2 separate regions of the Homo sapiens genome follow, and region 1 is linked to region 2. Evidence: promoter capture Hi-C in human tissues and cell types (Jung and others, 2019). All regions are on one chromosome and are shown on one strand. The core of a region is centred on a gene start or on the middle of the fragment in contact, and the rest is flanking DNA. Distances in the headings are between cores, read along the strand shown. Region 1 holds the start of PIAS4 (protein inhibitor of activated STAT 4). Region 2 holds the start of PIP5K1C (phosphatidylinositol-4-phosphate 5-kinase type 1 gamma).

Region 1 (7,603 bases), core at 2,826-5,325, 310 kb after region 2:
TGTTGGCCAGGCTGGTCTCAAACTCCTGACCTCAGTTGACCCGCCCGCCTTGGCCTCCCAAAGTGCAGGGATTACAGGTGTGAGCCATGGAGCCCAGCCAGTTATAAAAATACTATCACTGGGGAAAGCTGGGAGAAAGGTGCACAAATCTCTCTGTACTATTTTTGCAACTTCTTGTGAATCTGAATCTTCACCAAAACAAATACAAATTATACTTAAAAACAAAACCTGGCCAGGTGTGGTGGCTCACACCTGTAATCCCAGCACTTTGGGAGGCTGAGGCTGGCAGATCCCTTAAGGTCAGGAGTTCGAGACCAGCCTGGCCAACACGGTCAAACCTCGTCTCTACTAAAAATACCAAAAATTAGCCGGTGTGATGATGTGCACCTGTAGTCCCCACTGCCCGGGAGGCTGAGGCAGGAGAATCACTTGATCCTGATAGGTGGAGGTTGAAGTGAGCCAAGATCCCACCACTGCACTCCAGCCTGAGTGACAGAGAGAGACCCTGTCTCAAGAAAATTAATAAATTAAATAAAATTACAAAAATGAGCCAGGTATGGTGGCACACACCTGTAATCCCAGCTATTCGGGAGGCTGAAGCACAAGAATCAGTTGAACCTGAGAGGCCGAGGTTGCGGTGAGTCGAGATTGGCACCACCACACTCCAGCCTGGGTGACAGAGCAAGACCCTGTCTAAAACAAAACAAAACAAAACAAAAACAAAAAAACCCAATCCCCCGCAGAATCAGCAGGGCCGGAATGAAGGTAAGACTCATACGTGCAATGGCAGAGCTGGGGTTTTGCTGTCAATGGACAACATTTCAACAAATCTAAGGACCTTAACCGGCTTCATTGCAATTTGCTACACTTCATTCCATAAAATAGGATAACTGTTCCAATCAGTTGGGCAGAGGAGGTTGGCTCTACAGGAAGAGAGGGGTTGTAGAGAGCAAAATCAAAGAACAGGCTGGGCGGGGTGGCTCATGTCTGTAATCCCAGCACTTTGGGAGGATCCCCGAACTCGGAAGTTTGAGAGCAGCCTGGGCAACTTGGCAAAACCCCATCTCGACAAAAAATACAAGAATTAGCCAGGCGTGGTGGTGTGCACCTGTAGTCCCAGCTACTCAGGAGGCTGAGGTGGGAAGATCACCTGAGCCCGGGCGGTTGAGGCTGTAGTGAGCCATGACTGAGCCACTGCACAACAACCTGGGAGACAGAAACCTATCTCAAAACCAACAGCAACAACAACAACAAAAACCCAACAGCAAAGAATGTGTTAACTCATTAGTGTTACCATCAGGTTGTTTCAGGCTAGTTTTTTTTTTTTTTTTTTTTTTTGAGACGGAGTCTCCCTCTGTCGCCTAGGCTGGAGTGCAGTGGCGCGATCTCGGCTCACTGCAAGCTCCGACTTCCGTGTTCATGCCATTCTCCTGCCTCAGCCTCCCAAGTAGCTGGGACTAGAGGCGCCCGCCACCAAGCCCGGCTAATTTTTTGTATTTTTAGTAGAGACGGGGTTTCACCGTGTTAGCCAGGGTGGTCTCGATCTCCTGACCTCGTGATCCACCCGCCCTGGCCTCCCAAAGTGCTGGGATTACAGGCGTGAGCCACCACACCCGGCCAGGCTAGTTTTTTTGTGTAAGGATTAAAGAAATTAAGCAGAGGGAATTTTAGGACATTGGCCACTGAAGGCTGAAACTGGCCTGTTTGGAAAATTGGTTGGCCGGATCATCTAAGGTCAGTAGTTCTCGACTAGTCTGGCCAACATGGCGAAACCCCGTCTCTACTAAAAATACAAAAAAATTAGCCGGGTGTGGTGGCGGGCACCTGTAATTCCAGCTACTCAGGAGGCTGAGGCAGGAGAATCGCTTGAACCTGGAAGGCAGAGGTTGCAGTGAGCCGAGATTGCGCCATTGCATTCCAGCCTAGGCGACAAATGTGAGACTCCTCCTGGAAAGAAAGGGAGAGAGAGAGAGAGAGAGAGAGAGAAAGAAAGAGAGAAAATAAAATAAAAGAGAAAATGGGCTGATAGGGCTCCCTCCTGGTTTTCCCAAAGGTCAGATAACAACTTAGCTTCGTCATTGTGACTTAGAATCTGAGTGTGACTAGCTGCATTTTGTTTATTCCTGTGTCTTGGTGCCTAGCACAAGAGTTTAGTCTAAAACAACCGCCTCCTATAATTTTGTCGCCCAGGCTGGAGTGTAGTGGCATGATCAAAGCTCACTGCAGCCTCCAACTCCTGGGCTCAAGCGATCCTCCTGCCTCAGCCTCCTAAGTAGCTGGGACCACAGGCGCACACTCCTACGTCTGGCTCTTTACTTAAAATTTTGGTATTTCAGGCCGGGTGCGGTGGCTAACACCCATGATCCCAGCACTTTGCGAGGCCGAGGCCGGTGGATCACCTGAGGTCAGGAGTTCATAGACCAACCTGACCAACACAGTGAAACTCCATCTCTACTAAAAATACAAAAATCAGCTGAGCGTGGTGGTGCCCACCTGTAGTCCCAGCTACTCGGGAGGCTGAGGCAGGAGAATCACTTGAACCCGGGAGGCAGAGGATGCACTGAGCCGAAATTGCGCCACTGCACTCCAGCCTGGCGCCACTGCACTCCAGCCTGGTGACAAAGCAAGACTCCGTCTAAAAAAAAAAAAATTAGCTGGGTATGGTGGTGCATACCTGTAATCCCAGCTACTCGGGAGGCTGAGGCAGGGGAATCGCTTGAACCCAGGAGGCAGAGGTTGCAGTGAGTGGAGATCGCTCCATTGCACTCCAGCCTGGGCAACACAGCAAGGCTCTCAAAAAAAAAAAAAAAAAAGGCTGGGCATGATGGCTCATGCCTGTAATCCTAGTACTTTGGGAGGTTGAAGCGGGCAGATCACTTGAGGTCAGGGGTTGCAGAAAAGCCTGGCCAAAAAAAAAATTAGCTGGGCGTGGTGGCAGTCGCCTGTAATCCCACCTACTTGGGAGGCTGAGGCAGGAGAATCCCTTGAACCCGGGAGATGGAGGTTGCAGTGAGCTGAGATCGCGCCATTGCACTCCAGCCTGGGCAACAAGAGTAAAACTCCGTCTCGAAAATAAATAAATAAATAACAATTTGGTATTTCATCCATCATGGACTCTTTTGCACTGATTTTTTTATGTTTAAAGTGTTGGACTAGCCAGGTGTGGTGACTCGCGCCTGTAATCCCAGCACTGTGGGAGGCCCAGACAGAAGGATCATTTAAGCCCAGACATTCGAGACCACCCTGGATAACATAATGAGATCCTCGTCTCTACAAAAATAAAAATAAAAAATAAATTGCACTAAAATACTTGATTATTGAAGTTTGAAATCCACTTCTACGGGCACGAAGCCACTTAGCTCCAAAGCCAAGGAGCGCTTTGGAGAAGAGGTCCCAACTGGTGCAGATCCAAGGTTTCCCATGGGTGGGGAGGCAGGATGGGGGGGGCGCCTGCAAAGAGGTGAGGGCTGTACGATCTCCAAGGAATTTGGGAGCAGGGGTCCCGCTTTTCTCCGCCGGGCGCCCCCAGCCAGCTGGTTGCCGAGCCCACGCCCCATCTGCACACCAGGACCCGGATGTGCAGCGCGCGGGGTGTCTGGGCCCGTGGAGCCTGCACCGCGCTGCGCTGCAAGGCGCCTCACTGTACGCACTGGCGGCCGTTGCGGCGGAGCAACCATCCCCTGCCCGACGCCGCCGGGAGTCTGGAGACGCACCTGGCGGCCGCCGCGCGCAGGAAGCCACGGCACCTAGCTGCATTGTTGTCGCTGCCACCGCCCCCTCTCGCCTTCCCTCCCTAGAGGAAACCGAGCACCCGTCCCCACCTGCGCAGGGCTAGTACCACTTTAAGGAGTCAGGCGCCGCCGGGGTAGGCGTGGTCGCCGCGAGCGGGGGGGGGGGCGCTGGTGTAGGACGGACCTGATTGGCCGGAGGCCCGGGCGGTGGCCGCGCGCGCCTGCGCAGGAGGCAGCAGCGCGCACCGGCGGCGGGAGGAGCGCGCGCGGGTGCTAATTGGCCCGGGCGGCGGCCCCGCCCGCGAGTGGTGAGCGGTCACGTGACGCGACGGCTGGGGGCTCCCGGCGCGGGGGACGCTGGTGACCAAGATGGCGGCGGAGCTGGTGGAGGCCAAAGTGAGTGAGCGGTGGCGGCGCCGGCCGGGGCAAGTGGGCGAGAGGGCGGGGGCCGGGCCGCAGGTCGAGGTCTGCGCCTTCTGTCCGGGGCCCCACAGCGCGGCCGGCCCGCGGCTCGCCGTCCCGGCCCCCAGACCCCGACCCCCGGTCTCAGGGTGAGGGCGGGGGGCGGGGAGGCCGGGGGCGGGGCCCTCCTGCCTCACCCAGGTCTTCGCGCCGGGGGTCGCTCCCCCGGCTTCAGGCAGGGTCCCCCCACCCAGCCCGAGCCCTTAGGGTCCCGGTCCCTGAGCGCCAGGCCAGGGCCGCGCCTCCCGGTTGAGGCACCGTCCCGCCGGGATGCGGGACGTGTTGAGCTACTCGTTGCCCTCTTGGTTCCGAGCCGGGGTCCTTGCTTTTTGGCTGGTGTGTTGGGGGGAGTGTCTGCGCCTCCCCGCCCACAGGGCTCCCAGGACTGCTATCTGGGTCTCGTCCCCGCCCAACAGGCCAGGCTGGGGTTTGCGAGTCTCCTGCTCGGAAGGGTCCCCCGAGTCCTGGATAGTGTCCTGCCACCGTCCAGGTGGAGGAGTCAGGGCCCTGAGACCACCCCCAAGACACGGCACGTCCTCTTGGGGTCTGGAGTTCAGGCTCGGTCTTGAGCCCCTCTTCAGCTCCTGCATTGGTCCCAGAACCCCGCCCCCTTCCCGACACCGTCTCTCACACGCCGGAGTGGGCGCTTGGGGGAAGGCTGGGCCCTCCCTTTCCCTCCCCATAGGATGGAGTTCGGACCACTCTTCTTGGTCACAGACCTTCTTTATTCTCCTTTTTTTAATCTTAAATCCTGGACTGTGCTTTGGTCCTACCTCGTTCCTCTCGGGACAGAATCTGAGGCTACTGATTCTGCTTCAGGGGGCTCTAAACCTCACCTGTGCAGCATCAGATACTGTCCTCAAACCTTGGCTGCTTCTCCTATTTTCTGCTCTTGAGCGAGTCTACTTCTTAGGTCAGACACCCACCCTCCCCCTACACAGCCCCCAGAACTTTTATGCACCCCAACTTTGGTTTCTAAGGTCCCCTCTCTTTCTGCCTATTCTCTTTTGTTGATCTCTGGAGGGTCCCCACTGGGTCCAAGGCTGGCCTCTTTAGAACAACTGTTGCTGCTGCTCTATTATACTTTGGGTCCTGTCCAGGTCCCATGTCCCATAGATACCATCTCCTAGCTTGGAACCACTTTTAATCATCCTGGGATTGAGCTCAGAGTATCCCCATTCCAGGGGATGTACCTTCTTGTAGGTGCCTACCTAGAGCTGAGGGTCTAAAACCCTTAGAAGTGCCCGCAAGGCCACGGCTTCCGGGGAGGTTAGGGGACCTCTCCCTCCCCCATCCCCTTTCACATCTTCCCTCCCCACGGTCCTGACCTGTACGTATCTTCTTCTCGGTCCTCTCACATTACCCCCTGGGATCTGAAAACACAGCACTCAGGGCTCTGTGATTATAGCATATACCTCTCTTCGCCTCCCAACCCTACACCCCTGCGCACACTTCTGCTCCTCTCTAGAGTTTTGAAAAGTGGAGACTCGCCCTGGAGATGTGGAGGCCTGAACTCTGTAAACCCAAAGTGGCAGGCTCTGGGCTTGAAGTGTCCTGGAGTCCTGAAATGTAACCTCCCGTTTCGGGGCTTGGAGCTGTGACCCTGGACCCCAACCCCCACCCTGGCTGAGGGCAGGGTCTGCACTCTTTTGTACCATCCAGGCCTTGAAATATGATCTGATGAACTTTCCTTAACCCTCTGGTGGCTGGGCCCCCCCCCACCCCAATTAAATCAAGTTGACCCTTCTTTCAGGTTCTCTAAACCGTGAGCCTCCATTCAAGGGGGCCTGGACCCTGGGGAACCTTCTTTCTCCTTGAGTCTGTTGCTACCTCTCCAAGTACCTTAAATGTCATTGAAACATCCCCTTCTTTACAGGGGCCTTCCCCAGCCTGTCATATTCATGGCTGCAGATTCTGTCTTTTGGGGTGCATCACAGACTGCTCGGAGGGGCGAATGTTGGGGGTTTGTTGGTGAACTTTGAAATCTGAGACTCTCAGCTTGAGGCCTGCAGGCGGGTTTGGGGCAGGGGTGTCTGTGAGCTCCCTGAAATAGTCCACAGCGTTTCGCACAGATCTCCGCTTTCCTGGAGAGAGGCGCCTTCCTGAGCTACCCCCGGTGCTCTGAGGGGCCTATGCTGGAGGAAAGGTTCAGCGCAGCTGCTGTGTCTCGGCTGATGTCTCCCCATGCGACTTCCAGGCAAGCCTGGAGTTGAAACTCTGGAAGCTGCCGGGGCCTGGCACTGTTTATAAACACAGCTCTGACGGCAAGCAGGTCAGCTTGAAGCCAGGGCAGGAAGTGATCTTGGGGCATTTGGGGCTTCTTCCTGAATGCTTGTCCCCCCCGCACTCCCTCCAGTGTCAAGGGCAGGCTCCTCCGAGGTGGCAGCTGCTGGGAAATCTGAGTCGTGAACATATGGCCACCTAAGGGGTGTGCTCCGGGAAGCGGGAGCTGCGGCTCCACTGTCCAGCCTGGGTGGGGCAGGGGCTCCCGGGGTGCGAGGATGTCAGCAGGTTCCCCAGCCCACCTGCCTTCGGCCAGTCTGCCAGTGTGAAGTGTCCACATGACATCGTCTCTCCCTGCTAAGGCTTTGGGCCACTTCCAGAAGAAACATCTTGTCTGCAAGCCTTTTTGTTTTCTGCACAAGGTAGGAAGTCAGGCCAAGGGAGATGAGGCATTTTTGTTTTCAAAGCATCCCTGACTCTCAGGCCCAGCAGACCATGCAGGTCCCCATAGCCAGTGTGCTGGTGAGTGAGGGTCCCCCGGGCAGCAGACGGGAACACCCTTGGGAGGCCAGAGGCCGAGGGGCCGATGCCAGTCCCACGCATGTACTAGGGAGGCTCTGGGCCAGCCTCTTCCCTCTGTGAGCCTCGGTTTCCTCACCTACACGATGGGTGTCCTCATTGTGAAATTAGCGACACAGGCCTTGCTGGTGCCTGGTAGGGAGCAAGACGCTGGCATCCCGATTCTTTACAGTCACGGGGCCCCGCAGCCCTGATATGGGAAGAGGCTTCTCCCGAGGCTCTTTGGGCAGGGCTGGGCCGCCTGCACGTGTGTCCCTGTCATTTTGAGCCTGGACAGCCTCTCCGTCTCCAACAGGACCCTGGCCCGATACAGCTGGAAGAAATCAGAGCTGACAGATGAGGACCCGACAGTGGGCCCCGGCTGCTGCAGCTTTGGTGCTGAAATGTGCGGCTAGGCTCCTGGTCTCACCCTGGGGCAGCCAGGAGCCGGAAACCTCAGCGCCTCCTGGCACGGAGGCTGCAGTTTACATACCCCACTGGGACTGCCTCTGGCTTCGACCCTCAGGGTCTTTCGAGTGGAGTTTGAATGGTTTATTGGTTTCTTCGGGTACCCGCCAGCTTTCCTTAACACCCTTGACGCTTGAGCTTTCTCCCCATTCCTCCTGGAA
Region 2 (7,307 bases), core at 4,595-7,094:
TGTCCTCAGGTCCGACCCCACGCGACCCTCTCCCACCACGTTGACTTCACTTCTGCGGCTCAAGTGGGTGCAGCAAGTTCCCACCCCACGGCCTCGGCGCGACTATTCCGCTGCCTACATCGCCTGAGCCACAGCCCACCCTTATTCAGCTCGTGGGGACAGTCACCTCCCTCCGAGTCCTCAGCTGCCGCAGGCCTGGCCACTTGACCTCCCAGGTGCCCTCACCACACTCATCACCGCCCAACGCAGCCCGGCTCTGGGCTGGGCAAACATCTTCCGTAAAGGACCGGGCAGCAAGTGTTTTCGGCTTCGTGGGACACGTAGCCCCAAGCATGGCCACTCAGCTCCCAGCTCTGCCGCTGCAGCGTGGGGGCCACCAAGGCCGGCAACGGAACAAATGGTGTGGCCGTTGCCAATAAAACTTTGTTGACAAGAAGCGGCATGGACAGATTCGGGTGGGGTCTCACGTGGCCACTTGTTCCCATCTGCAGCCTGACGCCCAGCAACCTGAGGGCTCCAAGGGGTCAGCGAGGCAGTCCCGTTAGCACCAGAAGACTGGGCACCCTGAGCCCCACCTGGCCCACACGAGGTGCTCAACAAAGGTCTGGAGCCCAGGAGTGGAACTCACACTTTCACGAGCCGACTCCCATGGCGGACCCCAGCGCCCAGGTGAGCTCGCTTGGCACCTGGGCCCCGGAAGCAGCACACGAAGGGGACTCCCTCTCCTCCAACAGCAACCTGGGACGGAGGGGGCACCCAGCTTTCTCACGGGGCCGGCTGCCTGTCCCGTGCCTTCTAAGGGCTTTACCCCATGATTCTCCATGCAGCCCAGGAGAAAGGCAGCCATCACGCCCACTTTACAGACAGGTACACCGAGGCTGCACATCCCCGGCTGGCATGCAATGGCGCTGGGTGTGAACCCAGGAGGGCCGGCCCCCGAGGCCTCTCCACTGGGACACCCAGGCTGTGGTGGTCACAGTGCCTGACCTGCATCCCGGGAGGCGGCCAGGGCGGGAGAGAATGGGGAACTTTCCGTCCCCAGTGTCCTCAGCCTCCGCCTGGGCCCTGCTGACTTGCAACAAGAGACACCACAATCCCACTGACCCTTTTTTTTTTTTTTTTTTGAGATACGATTCTGCTGTCACCCAGGCATGCAGTGGCACGATCACAGCTCAGTGCAGCCTCAGCCTCCCAGGCTCAGGTGATCCTCCTGCCTCAGCCTCCTGAGTAGCTGGAACTACAGGTACATACCATTACGTCTAGCTACTTCTTTTAATTTTTTTTTAGTAGAGACAGGGGTCTTGCTATGTTGCTCCAGGCTGGTCTCAAACTCCTGAGATCAAGTGATCCTCCTGCTTCAGCCTCCCAAAATGCTGGGATTACAGGTGTGAGCCACCGTGCCCGGCCTCCCTGACCTTTTTACACAGACCACCACAGCTACAGGGAGGCCCTGGTGGCGGTGCTGACTCCCTGCCCGGCCGCCCTGTGACCACACTACACTGTGCTCCAGGCAGGCGGGGCCTCTGCTGGGGCCATGCCCTCTTCCTGCCCAATGCCCACAGGTCTCCCTCGGATGCCACCTTCTTGGCAAGGCCTTCCCAGCCACCCCATTCTACCTTACCCTTCCTCCCTGGCACTGCTGGCCTCATGCACCTGATGTTCACCAGGATCTGCACTGTGCTGAGCTCTTCCGGGCGCAGGGGATGCCGCAGGAGTGGCACAGACGGTCTTGGCCCTCGTGGAGCTCTCGCTCAGGAGGAGATGGTCAGAAAACACGTCAGCAGAGCCATATGTTTCAGGTGGTGACAAACGCTATGGTGGCACAATCAGGGAAGAGGAACCGGGAGGGCAGGGGACGGAGAAGGGGAGACCGCTGTGTGGTGACAGCAGGGCAGGGAGGCCTCACGGAGAGGAGATGCTCCCACAAAACCTGGAAAGCGCTAAGGGAGCAAAGGACACAGATGGGAGGAGGGGCATTCCGGGGTGGGGGTGGGGGGCAGCCGTGCAAAGGCCCCGGGGCAGGACCATGCCCTGCATGCTGGAGGAACAGCAAGGGGCCCATGGGCCTACAGCAGAGTGCAGACGGGAGGGCAGGGAGGGCAGAGTGCGGAGGGGAGGGCAGGGAGGGCAGGGAGGGCCCGGGGCAGGCTGTGCAGGGCCTGATGGGCTTCAAAGAGGACTATGTCTTTGACCCCAAGGGAGGTGGGAGCCATGGAGGGCTGCGAGCAGAGGAGGGTCGGGACTCGGGCCGCTGGTTTTTAATGGGGTCCTCCTGGAATGTGGGACAGGGAGCAGAGGAAGAGCAGGGGCGCCAGGCCTGGCTCAGGGGGCAAAGGAGGACTGAGCTGGACCGAGGAGGACTGAGCTGGACGGAGGAGGATCGAGCTGGACCGAGGAGGACCGAGCTGGACAAAGGAGGACTGAGCTGGACCGGGGAGGACCGAGCTGGACCAAGGAGGACCGAGCTGGACCGAGGAGGACCAAGGAGGACCGAGCCAGACGAAGGAGGACTGAGCCGGACGAAGGAGAACCGAGCCGGACAGAGGAGGACCAAGCTGGACTGGGGAGGACTGAGCCGGATGGAGGAGGACTAAGCTGGACCGGGGAGGACCGAGCTGGACCCGGGAGGACCGAGCCAGATGGAGGAGGACCAAGCCGGATAGAGGACCGAGCCGGATGGAGGAGGACTGGGCCGGACGGAGGAGGACCGAGCTGGACCGGGGAGGACCGAGCCAGACAGAGGAGGACTGAGCCAGACGGAGGAGGACTGAGCTGGACCGGGGAGTACTCAGCCAGACGGAGGAGGACCGAGCTGTACGGAGGAGGACCGAGCTGGACCGAGGAGGACCGAGCTGGACCGGGGAGGACCGAGCTGGACCAGGGAGGACCAAGCTGGACCCGGGAGGACCAAGCTGGACCCGGGAGAGGCAGAGGACAGGGAAGGAGTCAGTGGGTTCTGGGCCAGTTCTGAAGGTGAAGCTGCCATCATTTGCTGCCAGATCAGCCGTGGAAGTGGGGCAGGGGCAGGGATGCAGCTGACCTTTCCAGGGCATCACAGAGACAGATCAGCCGTGGGAGTGGGGCAGGGGCAGGGATGGAGCTGACCGTTCTGGGGCATCACAGAGACAGGACAGCCTGGGAGAGGCTCAGACACGCCCAGGCCACAGCTCAGACCAAACTCCACCACAGGCCATCGGCCCACACAGTGGGCACAGCCGCATCCCAAGCCCCGGCCTTCCCGAGACCGCCCCCACGTGCCCCACGGCCACGGCCCATGGAGACGCCATTCAGGCCACGCCTCGGGAGCCAGGAGCCCAGGCAATTAGAGGAACCAAATTCTAAACACCAACGAGACATTGCTTTGCCTCCCATCGGATCAGCCGAAATCGCCAAGGACGATGACACTGGGAGCTGGCAGTGCCGTGGGAAACGGGCAGCCTCCCTCGGCCCCTGTCGGACAAGGCTCCCGCTGTAGCTGAGCTTTCTGGAAGGTGTCGCCATCGCTTCTAACAGTGAGCGGTGACTCCAGAAACCACGGGCATGGGCCTCAGCAGGGGCCTGGAGGCACCGATGGTGGAGAGGCCGGAAAGGGGTGGCCAACCGGCACGACAATCACCAAGCACGAGCGCCAACTCATCCCAGGCTCAGCCCCTAGCACACACGGTCATCACCCCACTTCACAGACGGGACGCTGAAGCCCGGGGAAGTGACGGCCACACAGCACCTGAAGCGCGGAGCTGGGAGGGGGACATCGGCGGGACCAACTCTGGGGCTCCCCCTTAACCACTGCCTGGCGCTCGCCCTCTCTACAAACCGATACCAACATAGGGTGGGGAGACTCCAGATGACCAGAGATAAAAAGCAAGCAGTTCACAGAGTCATAAACGTGTGGCATTTCTCACCAGGGCCGTCCTGCCCCCAGGGGACACTGAACGGTGTCTGGGTCACTTGTGGCTGTCACAACTGGCAGGTGCTCCTGGCATGGAGTGGGCAGAAGCCAGGGGCGTTGCTCAGCACCCCTAATTTCCTGACTCAAAATACCTCTGCCAAGGCACAGAAGCCCCAGTGAGGCATGAAACCATCTCGGTGAAGAACAAGCAGGCCCCTTTATGTGCTCACGTCTCTGTGGCCCAGCCAGGCACAACCTAAACTCACCAGCGCTAACATCAGGAGGGATGGCGTTGGAGGAGTGAGGCAACTCTGAATTTTAAACATTCAGAAGCAGTATATGGCCAGCTGGGGTCAGATTTCTGTGGATTTCAGGGATGGGCAGAGATGCCAGACCCTGACCTTCCAGCCCTCCCCGGCCCCCCACCCCCACCCCCCCACTCCCCCGCTCTCCCACCCCACCACCATGCTCAGTCTGGAGCTGGCAACTTTATCTGTCCCCGGTGCTCCCAGAGCCCCTGATAAGATGAATGGTCGCGGTGTGGTTTTCTTTTGGTCAGCGAGTCCTGGGCTACTTTGTCTCTGACCAGCTGGGGTCAGAGGGCTGACAGCGGAAGTTGGGGGGCCCAAGAAAGGAACCCGGGCTGGGGCCTGGTGCCCTGCCTGGGTTCCTCCACCATGTCTCTTGCTGGCCAGGCCAGGACACCGGCTGCCCGCAAAGAAAGGGGCGAGGCCACTGGCTCTGGGGAAGGAACCGGGTCACCTACCAAGCGGTTCCAGATGGCCGCCGGGAGGGAAGCCACGAGTGTCTTTCAAGGCGGGGGGTGGGGGGGGGACTTGATGACTTCCACACTCTCTCTCTCTCCAGACATCTCCCCAACTCCCAGGCAGCACGCATCGCCCGCCCGCCCGCTTGCCCGCCTGCCAACCAAGGAAGCTTCGGGAGGCCTGGGGGGAGAAGGAGGACGGATGCCCGTGTGGGTGTCTACAGAGACGCTGCTGCTGGCTGCCTGGGAGGAGCAGAGGATTTTGTGAATCCGGAAACTTCCGATTTGGGAGCTTGTGACCTCGACTGAGAAGGAACTGTTCCCTTCCTCTGGGCTCTGCACACCGTCCCCACAGAAGGGAAGGCCCAGCTGCCGCCACCTACCCGGCTGGAGGTCCAGGAAGCAGCTAAAGGGGGCATGAGACAGCCGTGCCCCCCGCCCAGCCCGCAGCCCCACCAGTGTGTCCTGGGGGAAGGCTCGGGGAGAGGAAAAGGGGGCGACAGGGCACCCTGTGTGCACAGCCGGGGCGGTGGAGGCATCTTGAGATGTAACCCTTTTCCTCCCCTCATTTTAGCAGGGAGGTAAACTGAGGCCCAGGAAGGTGAGGAAAGGTCGCGCACCCGGACTCAGGTCTGGGGACTTACAGAAAGGGAGGTGACATCAGGAGGTGGGCACGCACGGCCTCAGAGACCCCCGCCTCCACCCAAGCAGCCGCCACTCACACGACGGGCAGCCCCTGGGAGCGGGTCAGGCAGAACGGGGATCCCCAGCGGCGCCCACGCCGAGTCGCCCCCGGCCCGGGAGCGGTGGGAGGTAGCCCCTCGCAGGCCTCCCGCTTCCCGGCGCGGCTTCAGCCCCGTCCTCCCCGCGGCTCCAGGGGACTGCCCCGCCCCAGGCTCCTGGAACCGGCGGCGCCCCCGCAGCGACCGTGCAGCCCCCGCCCCGGCCCCGCAGCCCCGCGACTCTCGGCGCTCGGACGAGCCCAGCGGGCCGCAGCCCCGGGAGGCCGGGCCGTTACCTGCCGCCGCCCCGCTCTCTGCCGCCCACGCCGCCTCCGAGGGCACGGCCCCCGCCTCAGCGCTCTCCGCCTCGTCCGGTACCTCCAGCTCCATGGCCGCGCGCGGACGGCGGCGGGGGCGCCCGAGGGGGACCCGAGCTGCGACCGCCGCCGCCGAACAACAAGCGCCGCCGGCCAAGGGAGGGCGCGCCGGGCCGGCGCGGGGCGGACGGGGCGGGGCCTGCGTGCGTGCGACGCCGCGGACGGCGCGCGGCCAATCGGGGCTCGGGGGCGGGGCCTGCTTGCGACCCGCAGCCAGGAGCGCCTCGAGTGCCCCCTCGCGCCCAGGGGTGGGAGTACAGAGCCAGGCTCGCCATTCCATCGTATTAGGTCAGTAAGATTGACAGGCACGATACGTATCAATAACATTGCTGTGCACAACACATACCAATAACATGGATCTACACAACACATGACAATAATATGGATCTATACAGCACGTGCCAATAATATGGATGTACACAGCACATGCCAATAACATGGATCTAAACAGCACATGCCAATAACAGGGACCTGCACAGCGCATGACAATAACATGGATCTGGCCGGGCGCGGTGACTCACGCCTATATTCCCGGCACTTTGGGAGGCCGAAGAGGGCGGATCACCTGAGGTCAGGAGTTCAAGACCATCCTGACCAACATGGTGAAATCCTGTCTCTACTAAAAATACAAAAAATAGCTGGGCGTGGTGGCACATGCCTGTAATCGCGGCTACTCGGGAGGCTGAGGCAGGAGAATCGCTGGAACCCAGGAGGGAGAGGTTGCAGTGAGCTGAGATCGCACCATTGCCCTCCAGCCTGGGCCACAGAGTGAGACTCTGTCCCAAAAAAAACCACACATGGACCTACACAGCACATGCCAATAACATGGAGTTACCCAATGCATGCCAATAACATGGATATACACAATACATGCCAATAACACGGATATGCACAATACATGCCAATAACATGGATATACACAATACATGCCAATAACATGAATCTATACTATATCATTGACATGGATCTACATAAAACATACAAATAGCATTGCTATATGCAATACATGCCAATCACATTGCTATACACAATGAATACCAATAACATTGATCTACACAATACATGTAACTAACATTGATACACACACTACATGTCAATAACATTGATATACACACTACATGCCAATAACATGGATATACACACTACATGCCAATAACATTGATATACACACTACATGCCAATAACATTAATGTACACACTACATGTCAATAACATTGATATACACACTACATGTCAATAACATTGATATGCACAAAATATACCAATAACAGTGATATACACAGTACATGTAAATAATATTGATCTACACAGGGCCGGGCGCGGTGGCTCATGCCTGTAATCCCAAGACTTTGGGAGGCCGAGGCGGGCGGATCACGAGGTCAGGAGATTGAGACCATCCTGGTTAACATGGTGAAACCCCGTCTCTACTAAAAATACAAAAAATTAGCCAGGCGTGGTGGCGGGCGCCTGTAGTCCCAGCTACTTGGGAGGCTAAGGCAGGAGAATAGGGTGAACCTGGGAGGCAGAGCTTGCAGTGAGCTGAGATCGTGTCA

The links. The method cuts DNA at HindIII sites, captures the fragments that hold promoters and counts their contacts. A contact is called where the count stands out against the background at its distance.
Region 1: the fragment with the promoter of PIAS4 here is called in contact with the fragment with the promoter of PIP5K1C in region 2 in 1 of the 25 tissues and cell types used here (lymphoblastoid cells).

The regions. Positions count from the first base shown.
Region 1 is chr19:4,003,661-4,011,263 of GRCh38, forward strand. It overlaps PIAS4 (protein inhibitor of activated STAT 4), which reads left to right and starts at 4,076. Exons shown (of 11, transcript NM_015897.4): 1 at 4,076-4,127. The coding sequence starts at 4,101. RefSeq lists enhancers at 3,102-3,993, 3,510-3,639, 3,994-4,884 and silencers at 3,840-4,139, 4,170-4,229. The HindIII fragment of the contact is 22,791 bases long and covers 1-7,603 here.
Region 2 is chr19:3,694,624-3,701,930 of GRCh38, forward strand. It overlaps PIP5K1C (phosphatidylinositol-4-phosphate 5-kinase type 1 gamma), which reads right to left and starts at 5,845. Exons shown (of 18, transcript NM_012398.3): 1 at 5,674-5,845. The coding sequence starts at 5,767. RefSeq lists an enhancer at 4,902-5,685 and silencers at 5,384-5,523, 5,604-6,093. The HindIII fragment of the contact is 9,003 bases long and covers 80-7,307 here.